Linked DNA regions of Homo sapiens: region 2 is linked to region 1. The links are contacts of gene promoters, found by promoter capture Hi-C in human tissues and cell types (Jung and others, 2019). All regions are on one chromosome and are shown on one strand. Each heading gives the region's core, a stretch centred on a gene start or on the middle of the fragment in contact. The rest is flanking DNA. Distances are from core to core; before and after follow the strand shown. Region 1 holds the start of KLHDC2 (kelch domain containing 2). Region 2 overlaps L2HGDH (L-2-hydroxyglutarate dehydrogenase).

Region 1 (7,001 bases), core at 2,685-5,184:
AGCTAAAGTAGCAGAACAGTGTTTTTAGAATATATAAGTAGCTTAGAAAGTGTTTTACATTTTTTTCTTTGCAGCCATATCTGATTTGTTTGTTTTTGGAGACAGTTTTGCTCTGTCACCCAGACTGGAGTGCAGTGGCTCGATCTCAGCTCACTGCAACCTCCGCCTCCCAGATTCAAGCGATTCTCCCACCTCGGACTCCCAAGTAGCTGGAATTAGCACGCCACCATGCCTGGCTAATTTTTGTATTTTTAATAGAGATGGGGTTTCACCCCAGCCTGGTGTTGAACTCTTGACCTCGAGAGATCCGCCCGCGTTGGCCTCCCAAAGTGCTGGGATTATAGGCATGAGCCAGCCACCGTGCCCAGCCCTTATCTGAATTTTTTAGTCCCCCTTATAATATCCACATTTACCATCTTCCAGTCTCCATGTTGTAGATCCATAGTTCTTCTCTAGGCAGATAAAAGTCATATAATCCTCTGACTTGATTACTCTAAGAATAAAAAAAATTGTAAATATAAAAACTGGTATTTTAAAGAGGCACTACTGTATTTTTTAAATCGATCTTGAGATACTAATTTCATAATTAGTATGAAAAATAGGTATTACAGTGCACAATCCTCCCCCACCCATGCCACACACTCAAGGTAAAGCTCAACATAGATAGCTCTTAATTCAGAATTTTGATACAGCAGTTGCAATAGGACAAGAAGAGATCTCTGGGAACTTTTTTTTTTTTAGTCCAAGTCTCTATTGCTCAGGATGGAGTGCAGTGGCGCAATCTTGGCTGGCTCACTGCAATGTCCACCTCCTGGGTTCAAGTGATTCTCCTGCCTCAGCCTCCTAAGTAGCTGGGACTGCACGCACTCGCCATCACGCCTGGCTAATTTTTGTATTTTTAGTAGAGACAGGGTTTCACCATGTTGGCCAGGCTGGTCTCAAACTCCCAACCTCAAGCAATCCACCCACCTCAGCCTCCCAAAGTGCTGGGATTACAGGCTGTGAGCCATTGTGCCCAGCCAAGAGATCTCTGGGAACTCTCTAAGGCAGCTTTATCCTGAACAGAACCATGCACCAAATTTCAGCTGCATGACTTCAGGAGACTGCCTGTGCCATGGTCAGCAGGCTGTTACTGAAAGTGCCTGATCCACGCTAACACGATGCGTGGTTTTCTAGCCATGCCTTCCTTTCACCTATCCATTCTCTAAGCAGCAATAGAGAGGGCAGAACTGCAAATATGCAAAATATTAAATCCTTATGCAGAATTTTAAGTTCTTTGTTCTGCTCCATTTCCCTTCAGGTATTAATTCCTAACACAGACTGAGCCTACCATATGCCACAGCTGAAAGCTATCCATGGATTGCTTTATTTAATCCTCACAACAACCCTAAAAAGTAGCTGATGTTATGAGAAAACAAGTTTAGAGTTTAAGTAATTTGCCCAAGGTTATTTATGAAGTAATGATGGAGCCAGGATTCTATCCTTTCCCTGAACTTTAACAACTGCCTGACATTCCCAGCCTTTGACCCTCCCTAGCCACTTTCTGAACAATGTTGACACAGTAAACGACTGCGGTTAGCCAAAAATGGGTGTCAAAGTCCAGCAAGCTTGAATATTAAACATACAGAAACAGAACAGTTGACCACGTAAAACAACTTCTTTTTCCACCCCACCAGTGATGAAGGGAAAGGCTGGAAGCGGGCTGACCCACAGGGGACCAGCCTGTCCTGGGGAGGAAAACTGCCTACTATGTAGGAAGCCAAGGTTTATTGCCTTTGAAACAATCTCCAAGGACTTCTGTGCCTACCCTCAGGGTTCCAGCCACCAGCCATAAATGGGGAGGGCAGTCTGTTTCAGAACCATCCAATTCAGTGATTGTGCTGCTCCTCCCTGAATCGGCCCCAATCATCCAGGCCCTTTTAAATCCACAAGAAATATTCCACACTAAGAATCCTCCCCTGCCCCACTCCCAAAGTCTTATTCTCTCATGCTGTCATTTTAAAAATACAATTATGAATTAGGTAGCTTAGAAGTGTCATTGACAGGTTTCTCCAGGGGAATTAATTTACATTTTTATAAGGGTGACTACATGCTTGCCCCCCCGCCCCCCTTCTTGCAATTCTCTACCCCTTTCTAAAGTATTTTTGAGACAGTTTCCTTCTTGTTGCCCAGGCTGGAGTGCAATGGCGCCGTCTCAGCTCACTGCAAACTCCGCCTCCCTGGTTCAAGTGATTCTCCTGCCTTAGCCTCTCAAGTAGACGGGATTAGGGCGCCCGTCACCACGCCAGGCTAATTTTTTTTTTTGTATTTTTAGTAGAGACGGAGTTTCACTATGTTGGCCAGGCTGGTCTCGAGCTCCTGACTTCAGCTGATCCACCTACCTTGGCCTCCCAAAGTGCTAGGATTACAGGCGTGAGCCACCGCGCCCGGCCCCCTTTCTATTTTCTAACCACATTCATTGGAAACTGGGGAAAACACTGCAGATTCATTAGGATTGGCAAAAAATTACTTTTGCAGTTAAACCAAAATAAAGTATCAGGACAGCCATCTTTGAAAGCTATCTCAAAAATGGTCAACTATGATCAAGTCAGCTGTACCATAAGCTAAAAACAATCACAAAGCAAGTCATCCAAGGCACGGGCGTGGGGAGGGCGGAGAACATTTTCAAGACCAAAGAGGAATTTTGTGGTAGGACTGGCTCAGAGCCATCCTAGCAAATAAAATTCTAGATTTCCGAGGTTAGCAGGGTAAAGAATGGCAACTGGCTTTAAACTGCTAACTAATCACGTTGTTTATAACCAGGGGATCGGAGAGTCAAAGAGCTGCACTCTGTAGTTCATTTGATGCTGGGGATTTTTTGGTTACTGGTGGAGCTTTTCCATTATCTTAATAGGGGTGTCTGCTGAAAAACTTCAACCCAGCTGAAGCCAGAAGGAAAACAGTCCTGATGGCCATTTGCACAGGCGGGAAGGCTGAATAAGGTGGTTCCTGTAACCTTTTGGAATTCCAGTTTTCCTACACCTCGGCCTCCCTGTAAGTGGGCAGCGGTTCCCAGCTCCAGAGGGTGAAGTCCTCGTAGGCCGTCCTCATAACGCGTCTGAGTGATATCACACACCGTCACCTTTCACACCCCAACCCTTCCGAATGCACCGCCCAAGCAACATTAACAGGGCCTTCCCCGGAATAACGCTCCAATGGCAACAACGGGGGTGGGAGTGAGTTGGCTTTGTGAGCACCAGGGTGACATGACAGCAGCCCTGGAGGTTCGAGACGGGTTGGGGTACTCGAGAGAAGGAAGATTCCCGCGCGCAAAAAAAAAACAACCAACGGGCAGAGTCTGAGGTGGGGCGCGCGACGCAGGCGGGGAGCGCCCTCGGCGGCCCGCTCTGGCCTCCCCGCCTGGCCGCGAACGCAGACCCGAGTCACAGCCGAGCGACGTCCGTCGCGGCCCGGCCACTCACTGACCTTGTAGCCGCCCCAGACGAACATGTGGCGCCCGTCGCTGACGGCTACGTGGCCGCTGCGCTCAGCGGGGCAGGCAAGCTCCATGGACTCATAGCTCTCGAAGGCTGGCCCAGGCAAGTCGTCAGCCCGCAGATCCTCGTTGCCATCAGCCATCTTGAGGCTGCACTTTTGCTAACCAACAATGCCCACACCCGCGAGGGGCCAAAAAAACAAAGGAAAAGGAGAGAAATGCACAGCGGCGCGAGGCAAGGAAAAGGCGGTGGCGAAAGGGACGGCGTTGAGGCCTCTCTGCCGCCTGCGCTCGCGTTTCCCAGCCTCCTCGGCCGAGGACGGCTCTCCGCCGCCGCCGGGGCACGCCTGCAGACAGAGGGGCCGCGAGCGGAGCCGGGCGGCGGCGGCGCGGGCCCGGGACTCGGGGCACTGCAGGGAAGCGGTCCGCGTCGGGCCGGCTCCCTATTGCAGCCCGTCTGCCCCGCCTCCTGCAGTCCACGGCCTTGTTTACGCCGCGGCCGGAAGCCGCCCGTTCCGCTGACGCCGCCCGCCGAGCTCCGGAAGCGAGGCTGCCGCTCAGCGCCCCCAGCGCCGGGTCCTCCAGCCGCCGCCGCCGCCGCCGCCGCCTCTGCCCGCGCCTCCGCCTACGGCCTGGGCACCGCAGATCTATGGGGCCCGGCGACTTCTAGTCGCGCTTCGAGTCTCCTTTCACTGAGGGAACCACAGGGATAATGTCCTGAATCGGTCCCTGAAAGCTGCTGAATTTTAGCCGGATTGCCGCAATTTTTTTTTTCTTCCCGAGGATTTCTATTCGTTTGATTGAGGGATGATCTCAGAGGGTTCACAGCCCGGGCAGGGGCACCAGAATTGCTCCACTAGCAAGTTTCTGGTCTCGCCTTAGAGTCGATGCAGGCCCTGCTGTTCTGCGGGCGCGAGGGCAGTCGCTTAGCTCTCACGTGGGGCCCAGCCCGATCCCCGGGGGCCTCTCCTGAGCTCCTGCCGCCCCTGCCGGGCGCCGCCTCTGCGGGAATCTGACGTTGCCGCCGCCGCCGCTGCCGCCGCCAGCCGGGCTGCAGAGTTGGCTTGAAAAGCGTTTCCGAAGCCGTAACCACCCTTTTCTTCAGAAAGAAAGGCGGATCCTTTTCACGCACACACAGCTTTCTCTTATATGATACCTTTCAATTGGGCCAAAAGAAAATTACGAGTTACTGTGCTTGATACCTCACCTGTAAAATAGGGTGGGACAAAAATAATCTTAAATTCTTGATCTTACAGTGCCTGTAGAATTTATCGTGTTTGGTAGGAGGGACGTGCTTCATTATCTCCATTTCCCTCATCTTCTGGTTGGGAGCACTCCATAGAAAAGGAACACTTTGAACAATAAAAGGCTTTTTTTTTTTAATTATTAAAATGCTTATAGCCTGCCACTCCTCCCCTAGTGTGCCAGTGTGTTTACTTGAACTCAAGAACTTGAAAGTTACTTAAGAGGATTAATTAAAGCCTTCAACAAGGAAGCAAATCACCTTGAGGCTGTTAAGACCTTATCTGCCATCCACCCTGGTTGGTGCCCTCAAATCTGTCTGGTTCACAGAATTCCTTGCAGCAGTGTCTTCTCCCAGTCGAATTATGCTCACTAGACTTTGGGGTTATCGAAGTTCCTTGTGAACCAACCTCGTGAATCTGATCGAGTCACTTAAAAACCTTGAGCTGGCTCCCGTCGTCCTTAGTAGAATCCAAAATTAATATCTCGGCTGGGCGCGGTGGCTCACGCCTGTAATCCCAACACTTTGGAAGGCCGAGGCAGGCGGATCACCTGAGGCCAGGAGTTCGAGACCAGCCTGGCCAAAATGGCGAAACTCTGTCTCTACTGAAAATACAAAAAAATTACACAGGCTTGGTGGCCGGCGCCTGTAATCCCAGCTACTTGGGAGGCTCAGGCAGGAGAAACTCTTGAAGCCGGGAGGCGGAGGTTACAGTGAGCCAAAAGGGCACCATTGCACTCCAGCCTGGGCAACAAGAACGAAACTCCGTCTCAAAAAAAAAAAAAAAAAAAAAAAAAAATTCATATCACAGTGCTGTGCAAGAAGACCCAGCATGGTCCAGACCCAGCTTGCCTTTCCAGCTTCAATTCCTGGCTGTGTCCTCCTTCCAGCTACATTACCCTTCTATCATCGTTTTTGTTTTTTGTTTGTTCGAGAGAAGTCTCGCTCTTGTCCCCCAGGCTTGAGTGCACTGGCTCGATCTCGGCTCACTGCAACCTCCGCCTCCCGAGTCCAAACGATTCTCCTGCCTCTGCCTCCCAAGTAGCTGGGACTAAGGCACCTGCCACCACGCCCGGCTGATTTTTGTATTTTTTAGTAGAGATGGGATTTCACCATGTTGGCCAGGCTGGTCTCGAACTCCTGACCTCAGGTGATCCACCCGCCTCGGCCTCTCAAAGTGCTGGGATCACAGGCGTGAGGCACCGCACCCACCCAGCCTATATTTCGTATATATATGCCATTTAATAAAATACTATAATATCCACTTTGATTTACTTATTTATGTTTCAAACCATACTTTTATCCTACTTAGAGCAGTAACAACAAAAAGAGTCTCTGAAACACATTAATTAGTTGTACTATAAGCAGAGTTTCTCAGTGTATCAAAGTATAGTTCCAAGCCCCGTGGGTACCTGGAGACCTTTTCAGGGGCTCCTTAAGGAACTCTCTTTTCTAACTATGTATCTGTGTGAGGCCAGATTTTCTTCACTTAAGTCGGCCTGGCGCAGTGTCTCATGCCTATAATCCCAGTATTTTGGGAGGCTGAGGTGGGCGGATCACTTGAGGTCAGGAGTTCGAGACCAGCCTGATCGACATGGTGAAACCCCGTCTCTACTAAAAAAATAGAAAAATTAGCCAGGCATGGTGGTGGGCGCCTGTAATTCCAGCTACTTGGGAGGTGGAAGCAGAAGAATTGCTTGAATCTGGGAGGTGGAAGATGCAGTGAGCCGAGATCATGCCACTGCACTCCAGCCTGGGTGAGAAAGCAAGACTCTGTCTCAAAAATAAAAATAAAAATGCAAAACAATATCATTCTTTTTGAAATTCTTTTGATTAGGAAAATAAAGTTATTTTTCATTTAAAATGTTATTTATGTTAACAATTTTGTTGTTATTTTGTAATAAATTAAAAAATTTAAACATTAAACTAAATTAAAATTAGTGTTAATTTCTAATATGGCAGATATCTATAGATAAAATCCTCATAAACAAAAGCTCTTGGAGGAACTCAATAATTCTTAAGAGTGTAAAGGGGTCCTAAACTAAACAGTTCTCAAGCTAACAGCCATCTCTGATCATGGCTGGCATACAATCAGCAACTTAATTTTAAAAAGCAAAAGCACATTGTGGCCAGGCGCGGTGGCTCACGCCTGTAATCCCAGCACTTTAGGAGGTGAGGCGGGCAGATCAAGAGGTCAGGAGATTGATACCATCCTGGCCAACATGGTGAAACCCTATCTCTATTTAAAATACAAAAAATTAGCTGGGCGTGGTGGCCTGCACC
Region 2 (7,001 bases), core at 2,939-5,438, 540 kb before region 1:
TGGTGGTGGGCGCCTGTAATCCCAACTACTCCGGAGCCTTAGGAGAATCGCTTGAACCTGGGAGGCGGAGATTGCAGTAAGCTGAGATCGCACCATTGCACTCCAGCCTGGGCGACAGAGCAAGACTCTGTCTCGCAAAAAAAAAAAAAAAAAAAAAAAGAAAAGAAAAGAAAAAAAGAAGAGGCTAATAATTAAATGTTGATGTTCTAAAAGTTGACTCTGGCTGCTGCGTGTTGGTGGATAGGGGGAGTAGAGTGGGATACCAGTAATAGCGATTGTGATTTGTTATGGGGCATGTGGACAGTTCTTTTGGGAAGCTTTTCTTAAGGAAAGAAAAGTAGGGCTAGTGAAAGTTTTGTTTATACTTAAAATGTTTTTTTAAAAAATTTTTGGAGTCAGGGTCTCACTGTGTTGCCAAGGCTGGAGTGCAGTGGCACAATCATAGCTCACTGCAGCCTCCACCCTCCTGGGCTCAAGCGATCCTCCCTCCTCAGCCCCCCTCCCCAATGCTTCCTGTCCTCCAGGAGCTGGGACCACAGGCAGCTAATTATTTTCCTATTTTTTTGTAGAGACGTTGCCCAGGGTGGTCTCGAACCCCTGGCCTCAAGTGAACCTCCCTCTTCAGCCACCCAAAGTGCTGAGATTACAGGTGTGAGCCACCGTGCCTGGCCTATACTTTTATTTTGAAGTAATTATAGATCCATTGGAAATTGCAAAAATAGTACAGGCCAAGCGTGGTGACTCAGGCCTGTAATCCCAGTGCTTTGGGAGGCTGAGGCAGGAGGATCACTTGAGCCCAGAAGTTTGAGACCAGCCTGGGCAAAATATAAGATCCCTTCTCTACAAAATAAAAAATAAAAATAAATAAACAGTACAAAGAGATCCCATGTACCCTTCACCCCATTTACCCCAATGAAAACATCTTATATAACTATAGTACAATATCAAAACTAGGAAATTGATATTGGCAAAATCCACGGACATTGTTCAGCTTTCATCAGTTTTACATATATTCGTGTGTGTGTGTGTGTTTAGTTCTATGCAGTTTAATCATATGTATTAATTTGTGTAACTACCACCTCAATTAAGATATGAAAATGTGGCCAGGCATGCTGGCTCATGCCTATAATCTCAGCACTTTGGGAGGCCGAGGTGGGAGGATAGGTTGAGCCTCAGAGTTGGAGACCAGCCTGGGCAACAAAGGGAGACGGCAAAACCCCTGCTCTACAAAAAAATTAAAAAATAATTAGCCAGGTGTGGTGGCTTGCTCCTGTAGTCCCAGCCACTTGTGGGGCTGAGGCAGGAGGATCGCTTGAGCCCAGGAGGTTGAAGGTGTGGTGACCTGTGATTACACCGCCGCGCTGAAGCCTGGACAACAGAGCAAGACTCTCTTAAAAAAAAAAAAAAGGGTGGTATAAAAATATTCTATTGCCACAAGGTTATCTGTTGTGTTACCTATCTCTTTATATTCACACCTTCCTCTCCATTCTTCCTAACTCTTGGCAACTGTGAATCTAAATTTTTTTTTTTTTTTAACACGAAGTCTCGCTTTGTCACCCAGGCTGGAGTACAGTGGCATGATCTTGGCTCACTGCAACCTCTGTCTCCTAGGTTGAAGGGATTCTCCTGCCTCAGCCTCCTGAGTAGCTGGGATTACAGGCATGTGCCACCACGCCCAGCTGATTTTGTATTTTGAGTAGAGATAGGGTTTCACCGTGTTGGCCAGGCTGGTCTCAAACTCCTGACCTCAGGTGATCCACCCGCCTCAGCCTCCCAAAGTATTGGGATTACAGGCATGAGCCACTGCACCCGGCCTGAAATTTTTTATATCACCAAATATTCAGTATAAAACTTTTAGAAAAAGGACAAGATCTTTGGACATAGAGATGACATCAAAAGCATGATCTCTAAAAGAAAAAAATTGACAAAATGGACTTCATCAAAATGAAAAACTTTTGCTCTGCAAAAGACTGTTAAGAGAATGAAAAAACTACCAAGACGTGGGAAAAAAATACCAGCAACTGCATATCTCCCAAAGGACTAATACACAAAATACATAAAGAACTCTCAAAACAAGCCTTTGGAGATTGGCTTTTTTTCACACAGCATACTATCCTTAAGATCCATGCAAGGCGTCGCCTGTATTGATAGCAGGTTTTTCAAAATTGTTGAATAGAATTCCATGGTATGGATACATCACAATTTGTTTAACCGTTTACCATGGGTTGAAGAACATCCAAGCTGCTTCCAGTTTTTGGCTATTACGAATAAAGCTACTATGAACATTCATGTTCAGGTTTTTGTATGAACATAAGTTTCATTTCTCTGGAATAAATGCCCAAGACTGCAGTTACTGAGTCATGTAGTAAGTCCATGTTTAGTTTCTTTTTAAGAAACTGCCATACTCTTTTCCAGAGTGGCTGTACTATTTTACATTCCCACCAGCTATGTGTGAGTAATCCAGTTTCCCTTCATTCTCACCAGCATTTGGGGTGATCACTTTTTAAATTTTAGCCATTCTGATAGAGACGTAGTGATATCTCATTGTGGTTTTTATTTACATTTCTCTGATGCAATGATGTTTGAACAATGCATTGACTAATGGTGTTGAACATCTTTTCATGTGCTTCTTTGCCATCTGTGTATCTGTCCTCTTTGATGAAATATTTGTTCATATCTTTTGCCCACTTTTTTTTTTTTTTTTTTTCTGAGATGGAGTTTCGCCTTGTTGCCCAGGCTGGAGCGCAGTGGCGCGGTCTCGGCTCACCGCAGAGGCCTCCTGGGTTCAAGCAATTCTCCTGCCTCAGCCTCCCGAGTAGCTGGGATTACAGGCATGCGCCACCATGCCCAGCCAATTTTGTCTTTTTAGTAGAGATGGGGTTTCTCCATGTTGGCATGGCTGGTCTCAAACTCCTGACGTCAGGTGATCCGCCCGCCTTGGCCTCCCAAAGTGCTGGGATTAAAGGCGTGAGCCATCGCACCCGGCCTGCCTACGTTCTAAATGGCTTGTTTTGAGAGTTCTTTTATGTATGAGTCCTTTGGGAGATATGCAGTTACTAGTATTTTTTTCCAATTTCTTAGTTTTTTTATCCTCTTAACAGAGTCTTTTTGCAGAGCAAAAGTTTTATGTTTTGATGAAGTCCATTTTATCAGTTTTTTTTCTTTTATGGATCATGTTTTTGATGTCAACTCTAAGTCCCAAGATTTTGTCCTATTTTTTCCTAAAAGTTTTAAAGTGAATATTAGGTGATGTAAAAAATTTTGTGTTAGTTTTTTTAACTATAATGGTAGTGTGTGTTTTTAGAGATGCCTTTTAGAAATAACATTGAAATATTTACAGATGAAATAATGTGGTGTTTAAGATTTGCATCAAAATAATATAATACAGGAGGGGATGAAATAGAGTATAGAAGAAGCAAGATTTGCTGTGAGTTGATAATTAGTGAAGCTGGGTGATGTATATGTGGGGCTTCATTGAACTATTTTGTCTAACTTTGTGTAGGTATGAACTTTTCCATAAAAAGCTTAAGAAAATTATCTGTTAAACCATTCATTGGTGTTAACTTGAGATTAAGTGAGTTGTAGAGAAAGATGTCTCTTTCAGCCTCCGTGGTTAGCTTGGCCTGCAACTGTCCTCCAGCATTCATCTATGACTATTGTTCTGTTCACCTGTCTCCATAGTGGATGCTTGGAGATTTGTGCTTTTGTTTGTGAAACATATTTCAATGATTTTGTGTCACTGGATAAAACAGTGATTCTTCAGATTTGAGAAGAGGGAGTGAAGGGTGGCACATGTAGTTGGAAAAAGCATATTCAGTATGATAGTTTTATGTTTGAAAATAAGAAGGGTTTATTGATAGTTGTAGTATAATCTGCAAAGACAATATCTTGGCTGGGAATCTGTACCAAGGTAATAATTCTAAGTGGAAGGTCTACCTCCCCAAAAGCTTTTGTGTTATAATTATCAAAAGGCAGCAAGGGGCCAGGCGCAGTGGCTCACGCCTGTATTCCCAGCATTTTGGGAGGCCGAGGCGGGTGGATCACCTGAGGTCAGGAGTTTGAGACCAGCCTGACCAACGTGGTGAAACCTCGTCTCTAGTAAAAATACAAAAACTAGCCCAGCATGGCAGTGTTCGCCTATAATATCAGCTACTAGGGAGGCTGAGGCAGGAGAATCACTTGAACCTGGGAGTGGGAAGCTGCAGTGAGCCGAGATCATGCTGCTACACTCCAACCTAGGCAATAGAGTGAGACCCTGACTCCAAAATTTTTTAAAAAAAAATTTTCAGTATAAACAAAACTTTCACCAGCCCTGCTTTTCTTTCCTTAAGAAAAGCTTCCCAAAAGAACTGTCTACATGCCCCACAACAAATCACAATCACTGTTAACTGGTATCCGACTCTACTCCCGCTATCCACCAACACGCAGCAGCCAGAGTCAGCTTTTAGAACATCAACATTTAATCACTAGTCTCCATCTAAAAAAAAAAAAAAAACCCCAAAACAAAAAAACCCCCCAAAAAAAACAAAAGGCAGCAAGGATGAGAAGCATTATTATGGAAGTCAAGACCACCCCTGTAAGGGCCAAGGTTATGCTACCTTTTACAGAAAATGAGCCTTGAAGGCAAAACATAGCATCATAGTTGAACTTGAAAGTAAGAAAGAAAAACAGTATGAAAGATATCTCTCTTATACACACACTGCCATGTAATTGATATAGATATCAACTTGATAAATTAAAAAAATACAGCTGGGCACGGTGGTTCACACCTGTAATCCCAGCACTTTGGGAGGCTGAGGTGGGCGGATCACGAGGTCAAGAGATTGAGACCATCCTGGCCAACATGGTGAAACCCCGTCTCTACTAAAAATACAAAAATTAGCTGGGCATGGTGGCGCGCACCTGTAGTCCCAGCTACTTGGGAGGCTGAGGTGGAAGAATCGCTTGAATCCGGGAGCTGGAGGTTGCAGTGAGCCGAGATTATGCCACTGCACTCCAGCCTGGCGACAGAGCCAGACTCCATCTCACCGAAAAAAAAAAAAAAAAGTCAGTCAAAACAGTCAGTCCTCGTTTTTGTGGGTTCTGCATCTGCAGATTCAACCAACTATGGATCAAAATATTTGGAAAAAACAGTAAAAAATAACACAATTTAAAATACAGTATAACAACTATTCACATAGCATTTACATGGTACTATGTAGTATAAGTGATCCAGAGATGACTTAAGGTATATTGGAGGATGTGTGTAGATTATATGCAAATACTGTGCCATTTCGTATACAAGACTTGAACATACGTGGATTTCGGTATCCATGGGAGTCCTGAAACCAATCCCCTGTGGATATTGAGGGATGACTGTATATAAAATATGATTAAGTAATACACATACAAATATCTTAAGTATTTGTAAGTGTTTTGAACACCTACCTTAGTGGAAGATTATAGAGGTTTTGAAAAATAAAAAGCCTATCTTAACAATAGTTATTCTGGAATTCTTAAAAGCCAGGCTATTTTAGAATCCATAAAACATCTGTTTATTGTGAAAGTTGTGTAAAGGGTCAATCTGTAAATCAGTGTAAGTACCTAGTGGAATGTGAATGCTTTACCTTTTATCCACTGAACTTATGTTTTTTTAAAACCTGCTTAAAGGCTTGGACTTCCAAATACATTCTGATCACATTAGTAATTTTTTAGTTGACCACTGTAGGCATTTGCCAATAACTAGTATTAATGTAGTGGACCCAGAATCCCATTTTACTTGTGCTGCTCTTTTTATGCCCTCTCTTTTTAAAAGTGGGCATCATTCACCATCCTTGACAACCATTTTATCCAATCTAAAGCTGCTGCAGGAGAACCACCTGCTGAGCATCACCTGGAGGTTCTCCCTGTTCAAGTATAAGGCTTATGCTCTGACAGAGGGAACTTTATCCACTTATGACCCCCAAGTTAATTTAAGATGCAGGATTTGATTTATCAAGCTTACGTGTTAGTTCCTAGTTGTCTAGGATCTGTTTCTGGTTCCAGATACAGCCAAAGATGTGGTAGCAATTCTAATCAAATTGATGTGCTTTGCTAAGGATTTTGAAATTGAAACTTAGATCACTTTTCGAAGAAAGGGCCTAATCTCTGAAATTTCCCTCTGTCTACAGTTCCTATAAGATCCATATTTGTTGGCTATCAGGTCAGTGTTAAAGGTAATCTTTTAAGCTTCGAATTGCAGATTTATATAAATTATACATGGTTGTTCTAAATTTTTTTTTTGAGACAGAGTCTCGCTCTGTCGCCCAGGCTGGAGTGCAGTGGTGCAATCTTGGCTCACTGCAAGCTCCGCCTCCTGGGTTCACGCCATTCTCCTGCCTCAGCCTCCCGAGTAGCTGGGACTACAGGTGCCCGCCACCACGCCTGGCTAATTTTTTGTATTTTTAGTAGAGATGGGGTTTCACCGTGTTAGTCAGGATGGTCTCAACCTCCTGGCCTCGTGATCTGCCCGCCTTGGCCTCCCAAAGTTCTGGGATTACAGGCGTGAGCCACCACGCCCGGCCCTAATTTTGTAAATGGTTGTATAATCAGGATTTGCCATGGCAAAGATTGTGGTTCCTAAGCCCATTTCTGGACCAATTATTGCCCCAAGGTTTATTTTCTCGGAGTTGTTTACTTCTCAAAGAAAAACTTGTAAAAATTCTTGCACACTAAAGTGTTAAAGCTTTAATGTGTTAACACATTGTCAAGAGTACTACATTGGAATTTTGAAAGGCTGGGTAGTAGAATCATGACTATGCTTAACACAAAGTATAGTCATGCACCGCATAACAACATTTTGGTCAACCACAGACTGCATGTACAGTGGTGATACCAAAGATTATAATACCATATTTTTTCTGTACCTTTTTTATATGTACACATTTTTAGATGCACAGATACTTACCATTGTGTTACAGTTGCCTGCAGTATTCAATATAGTAACCTGCTGTACAGGCTTGTAGCCTAGGAGCAATAAGCTA

The links. The method cuts DNA at HindIII sites, captures the fragments that hold promoters and counts their contacts. A contact is called where the count stands out against the background at its distance.
Region 2: a contact is called between a fragment that was not itself captured here and the fragment with the promoter of KLHDC2 in region 1, in 2 of the 25 tissues and cell types used here (dorsolateral prefrontal cortex and hippocampus).

What each region holds. Positions count from the first base shown.
Region 1 is chr14:49,765,086-49,772,086 of GRCh38, reverse strand. KLHDC2 (kelch domain containing 2) reads right to left here and starts at 3,934. Exons shown (of 13, transcript NM_014315.3): 1 at 3,466-3,934; 2 at 414-493. The coding sequence starts at 3,618. RefSeq lists silencers at 3,705-3,884, 4,055-4,134, 4,475-4,534. The HindIII fragment of the contact is 15,286 bases long and covers 799-7,001 here.
Region 2 is chr14:50,304,095-50,311,095 of GRCh38, reverse strand. All of the region lies in intron 1 of L2HGDH (L-2-hydroxyglutarate dehydrogenase), which reads left to right. Among named protein-coding and RNA genes, the nearest start is that of L2HGDH, 4.6 kb to the left of the region's middle. The HindIII fragment of the contact is 4,534 bases long and covers 1,922-6,455 here.